Regions from separate parts of the Homo sapiens genome. Here region 1 is linked to region 2. The links are contacts of gene promoters, found by promoter capture Hi-C in blood cells and fetal thymus (Javierre and others, 2016). All regions are on one chromosome and are shown on one strand. The core of a region is centred on a gene start or on the middle of the fragment in contact, and the rest is flanking DNA. Distances in the headings are between cores, read along the strand shown.

Region 1 (3,008 bases), core at 345-2,844, 830 kb before region 2:
TCCCTGCTTCCACTGTGTATGTCTCCCTCCCAGCCATTATCTTTCTCCTTAGTCCTGCCCCAGGCCAAGCCAAGAAATCATCATAGGCCAGGCTGGTTGTTGATAGAGTGCAAAGAGCAATAGATCACCTTTTAATGATGGAGAGCAGCTTCTGTGGCTTCTCAGCTTCTTCCCGGGAACGTCTCCTAGCTGAGGAACGGGGAGACAGTGTTATATGGCATGGGATAATTTCATAGGCATCCTATAGGAAGCTGAATAGTAAGGCCTTTGACTCTCATCAAGAAAAGACTACAATCCTGAAAAGTCCGTACTCTAAGGCATGTCTGAGTACAGCATCGCTGTAACACAATGTCCCATATCTAATTTCATTTGATTTTTACAACCACAATGTGATTGAGGCAGGATTGTCAGTGTTTTGCTCATTTTGTGGATAAGAATGAGAGATGAAATGACTTCCACAGGGTCATAAAACTAGTAAGTTATACAATTAAGAACATCTGCTCTACTTTCTTAATTCTTCATTTCCAGGGCATTGAGGTACAGGATTTTGGAACATTCTCAAGTTATGATTTCCCACCCATGGAAATTTCAGTCTGGGGAACTGGAGTCTTCAGTGGCAGAGCACCTGGCTCTTGGCTCCAGAGGTCACAGAGGGACAGGATTCATGGGAAACACCCACAGTGGAAGGGAGTCAGAGGAGAGATTGGGACTTTACCTGTTGATGCTGCATCTCTAGCTCTTTGCCTGACTTTTTGGTGACACTTAGAAGACAAAAACATTAGAATGTGAAGCTGGGACACCATTTTCTTTCTCATGTCCAAAATGAGACAAAACTTACATACATTTTTCACTCGCTTTGTATATATCTATCTGTATTTTATACACTCTCCTGGACTTCCTTTGCCTATTCCACCTTTTTACCCCATTTTCCTTCTCTGCTTATTTTGGATTCACTTGGAGGCTTTTCCAAATTCTATACCTCCCATCTGATTCACAGAGAAGTCCTGCTGGATGCTGAGGATGACACAGGAGGAAAAGCAGAACAGACAAAAGGGTAAATGGTTCTAACAACCAAAGGACTTCTGCTTACAAAGCCCACCAACCGGAAAAATCCCCCATATTCAGAGAGCTTCCGAGATCCAGCAAGATAGACTTCATATTATCTAGTTCTCAATCCAAACCAAATAGAGAGGTTCTTGGCTTTTCAATCAGACTATGTTGCGGGAAGGGCCTGGTAAGGAATTATAGTCTCTGAGAAGAAAAGTATTACACAAAGGTAACTGAAAGTATGCTATAAAAATTCTGGGGTGGGGATTATAAGGGAGCACGGTAAGAACTTATAGGCTTCTTATCTGAGGCTTAATTAGTTCAGTTGGGATCACAGCCCTACCCGGCAGCAGCTCCTTTTAGGTTCTGAACTCAATTCATGGTGGCTCCTTTTCACTTGCCAGATAATTACAATAACGATGAAGATGGAGCCATAGATGTATAAGGGATATCCAACTTCCCACAGAACAAAAGTAGGGCTCAACATGGTCTAAACTTCATTAGCATGAGATCAACCATCCCTCTATCTCGGAATTCAGGGTTCTGGTGCCTAATGAATCCCAGTGCTAGGCCTTGTCATGTCCACCTCACAGAGGACGGAACTAGGCCACCAGACTGCATCACAAAGCCCTCCTGTTTCATAAGGTACATGTAGTAGGGAAGCTCATGTGGTGATTCAGTCTGTAGATGAGGGTGTTTTGAGCCTGGGACTGAAGGTGCCACAAGCAGTGTCTATTTCCTAGTCTGTCTTCACTTTCCACTCCCTATACCAGCCTGATGCCTCGGCTCTCTCCTTCACAACTGTATGGTCACCTGTCCTCAGAAAACTGAGTGCTTTGGCACAGGGGTCACCTCATAAGAAGGGGTAGATAGGCCGGAGGAACCTCCACTAACTCTCCCACTAGTTTTGGTAATATACCTGAGAAACACACATGAATTTAGGGAGGGCGGAGTCTGGTTATGGCTTGGAAATGGAGATCTTTGATGTTTTAGGCAATGGGTGATTGGTAACAGAGGTGCAGGAAGGGGACCATGGCTGATGTGGTAGGGTGGTAGGGAGAGGCCAAGGTGGTTGTACGTATCTGGTCTGTGTGGCCTCAAGCTTGCAGATGGGTTGGGACTGTAAATGCTACCTTCCATGGAGGCACATTCATGCTCAGGGAGATGAATGCCTGCAGAGATGGGTTAGTGGCCGCTTCTGACTGTGGGTCACAAGTGACTAGTTGCTGTTCATGGTTGGATGTATGCTGTTTGCCTGAGGATGTTTTTTTTGTTTGTTTGTTTATTTTTCTCAAATCTGTATTTTGTAAATTTTTAGGCAGGGCATGTGTTTTCCAATTCAGCTTCAGGACCCATTACTTCCATAGCCAGACTATTGATTTACCTGCCTAGCTTTTGTAGATATTGTGATATGCCACCAACACCTCAGTATTCCTGAATTTCCTTGAGAGAGTTCTGCTCTGGTAATGGTGGTCTCAGGCCAAGAAACCTTTGGGCTGAAAATCTCTGAAGAGGCTTTGGTCCTTCCTCAGTATCCAGCCCACCCAGCAGATGTGGTAAGCACCCAATATGTGCTCAGCCCTAAGCTGGGGAGTGTTGAGGATACAAAGACATTTGAGCCGCATTGGCTTTCTGCTTTCAAGATACTTAAAAATGTAGTTTCAAAGACAAGACTAATTCATACAAAGCAAGAGCCAACAATCACTACAAATAGACTTATATACTCATTCGTAAGGCTCTGGCCACAAACATTCCATTTCAGAGAAGAGAAATCATAGTGAGGATCATGGTCATCAGAGAGGGCTCCTGGGTAGTCGAAGTTAAGTTTAACAGTGCAGGTTGTGGGTAAAAGGACTCTTCCTGGTGGGAGAAAAACTTACCAGCTCATGCTGAATCTAGGGAATGGGCCATGGAGTTCATTTGGCAATAACAAATGCAGTGTATCTCTAGCAGAATATAGA
Region 2 (2,990 bases), core at 258-2,757:
TCTTCTCACCTGGCACGTAGCCCCCATAGTTAGGTAAAAGACCCAGGTTCTGAGGGTATGTTCTGGGAAGTGGGGGGAGATGTTTGGGGTCCTGGGCACTGCCTGGTGAGTGCTTCTGCCCAAATTCCTGCAGTGCCTGGTTGGTGAGCACAGGAAAGCTGGAGCCGAAGAGGAAGCGGGCGCAGGGCACATAGCCAGTGAAGCCTGAGGATGGGGACACTGAGCCAAGGCATCCTGGGGCCTCCCCACGCCTCTGATCCTGACCCCCCAGCTCTCACCTGACATGAAGAACTTCCGAGGGTCCCTGTCATCCATGGAGTAGGGAGAAGCCTGTGAGAGAAGCCCCTGTGCTGTCACACAATCTCCCAAGGAGGTGGAGCTGACAATCAAGTGCACATCCCCTGAACCCACAGCCACACTACTCATGCTGCCCCCACTGCCCGGACACACAGTAAGACCCCCACTCCCACACCTCTGCACTCCCCACCAGCTTCTTGGTCTCACTTGTTCCACCACCTCCAGTGTCGGCTCCTCCAGCTGCCCCTCCGGCTCTGGCACCTGGTCCTTCTCTGTGTCCTTTCTTCCCTTGGCCTCCTTTGGTAGCTCTTCACTCCCTTGCTTTTCATGCAAGTGAGTAAAGTCACTCAGAGCCTCGGCCCAGACCTGGCTGCAGTTCTTGGCAAAGATGAACTGTGCCCGGGGTACAAAACCTGGGCAGGCAGGGACAAGGAAGACTCGTTAGTGTTTGGAACACATGCTCCTGGGAGGGGCACCTGTGCATACCTGCGTACAAACCTGTGTACCCAGGGATCATGCTGGAGCTGAGCCTTTCTTGCCCACGCCTGACAGGTAGACTCTCCCTGGGAACCTCAGGAGATCTTGGAGGCCGAATGGGAGGCAGAAGTGTGCGGTGGACAGGGGGCCAGGCTAGGCCAGGAGGGCCTCGAAGTAGCTGACCAGTCACCTGCCCATAGGTCTGGCCCACGCTGAACCGAAGTAGTGGGCAGTGTCCAGTGTACCTGCAGCACAGACTCTCCCACTCACCAGAATCGCCCTGCCCCGCCATCCCCAGAGGCAGAAGCGGAGACCTCTGAAGCCCTGATCTTTCTGGACTCAGCAGTGTATATATTTGGAGCAGGCATTTCTAAGTTCTCTGCCTGGGCTTTCGATCCTTCCTCTGCTGTTACCCTGTTCCCATGGAGAGAACAACACAAAGCTTTGGGGCAGACCCGGTGTCTCACTAGTCCCTTGCTTCTCCTTTTCCATCCACCACCATAGAGACCTCAGCCTCCCAAACCAACCTGTCCGCTTGGCCCCATGCTCTAAGCAGCTTAATTCCTCCACCCTATACCCCTACTCCCAGCAGCAAGCGGGGAGCGCTAAGTGGGAGTCTTACCCTGGGATATAATGAGGGTTCTGAGGGTTGAGCCCTGGTATGAAGGTGCTGGCCACAGCCATGGGGAGCCGGGCATTTCCTTTTGTTTGCCTTTGAGCCAAGGCTCTGGTCTGTGTGTACCGTGTCCAGGGCTGTGGGGCTAGAGGAAGGAGGCGGGGCTAAGGGAGGAGAGAAGGGAGGGGGCACTCGTGTGAGGACAGCCAGGGCGAAGGCCGGCAGAACTGTAGAGCAGAGGCTAGCAGGTCTGTCTGTCCAGGACAAAGGTGGTCCTGCTCGTGGGGCAGGGCCCGAACCGAAGGAAGCCCTGAGGTGGGACGTGGGAGGTGGGACGTGGGAGGTGAGGGAGCAGAAACCATTCGGGCCACTGAGCTCTGTCTCAGCGACTTCCTTCCTGAGCGCCTGCCTGAGAGGTGGACACTGTGTTCCTCATGAGTCTTCATCAAAGGAGATGGGGGACCTGGAGAAAGGATCTTTGAGGGAAGCCAGGGCCCAGAGGGGAGGTGAAAGAGGACAGGTGATGGGGGAAAAAAAGGAACCTAGACACCTCTAGGGAGTAACATCGTTTATTTTCAATAATTTAACAAGAGTGGCTTACTGAATACCTGCTATAATCAGAGTCATCCATTCAACAAATGAGCCAGGCTCTGCCAGGCTCCGGCCACAGTGGCCGAGTGTGCACTCCATGGGAGCCAGAAAAGCTGTGGGGGTTGAGGGAAGGAAACAGGATAAAGTTGTTGTAGGTGTGGGCGGTAACACTAGGGAGCAAGTTAGAATTTGTTAAAAAAATAAAATAAAATAAAAAATTCGGATTCTAAGAGAAGAAAAAGCACAGACCAGGAAGATGAGATCTCAGAGGACGGGGAAACATGTTTAAAACCCAACTCTGGGCCGGGTGCAGCCACGCTCACATCAACGTACTGAGGAGGCTGAGGTGGGAGGATCACTTGGGTCCGGGAGTTTCAGTCCAAACTGGGCAACACAGCCAGACCCCACCTCAAAAAACAAAACAAAACAAAAAGTTCTGGGGCTGGGTCAGGGCCAGGCTGAGGGCTCAGGGCCCACGTTTCTGAGGCAGAGCTCTGCTCTTCTCCCCACCTCCAGTGACCATGCCTGCGCTGACCAAGGACGGCACTGACATCCCAGGGGAATTACATAAGAGCACTGGGCTCCAAGGCACACATTTCATGTTCCTCACTGTTCTGCCAAGGACAGCCTTAGAATGTGTCATTTAGAGTTGTGGGGACTTACCTCACAGCTGAGGAAATATGTTAGAGTGAGGATGGGAGCCGAGGGGCAAGCCCAGAATAGCAGCAGTGTGTCAAGCTTAACAACCAGACTTGGGATTCTGTGACAGACACTATCACAGCTTATACCTATTCCTGACCCCCATCTCCTTTCTTCCGAGGAGCCAGAAACTGCATCAGGGAGGCTTGGAGAGCCAGCCTGGAGGAATGAGCTGGATTAGTCTAAGCGTGGTCCCATGCTCCTTCCCCATGACCGCTTAGGCACGGGCTTCCAGCATTCTGGATAATATGAGGGGAAATCTGCTGGGGCAGGGGAGGGTCCTGGGAAAAGTTTCTTTGCTCTTAAAGAA

Evidence for each region. Contacts are between HindIII fragments. The CHiCAGO score rates a contact against its expected background, and 5 or more counts as called.
Region 1: the fragment with the promoter of SPATA31F1 here is called in contact with the fragment with the promoter of CIMIP2B in region 2 in 2 of 17 cell types (non-activated CD4 T cells and megakaryocytes); the score reaches 5.6 in non-activated CD4 T cells.

What each region holds. Positions count from the first base shown.
Region 1 is chr9:34,727,894-34,730,901 of GRCh38, forward strand. It overlaps SPATA31F1 (SPATA31 subfamily F member 1), which reads right to left and starts at 1,595. Exons shown (of 4, transcript NM_001141917.2): 1 at 1,391-1,595; 2 at 716-761; 3 at 129-189. The coding sequence starts at 1,534. It also overlaps a transcript of PHF24 not described here. The HindIII fragment of the contact is 7,130 bases long and covers 1-2,147 here.
Region 2 is chr9:35,562,371-35,565,360 of GRCh38, forward strand. It overlaps CIMIP2B (ciliary microtubule inner protein 2B), which reads right to left and starts at 1,508. Exons shown (of 6, transcript NM_001164310.3): 1 at 1,397-1,508; 2 at 796-1,019; 3 at 505-710; 4 at 279-330; 5 at 10-204. The coding sequence starts at 1,458. The HindIII fragment of the contact is 1,503 bases long and covers 1,215-2,717 here.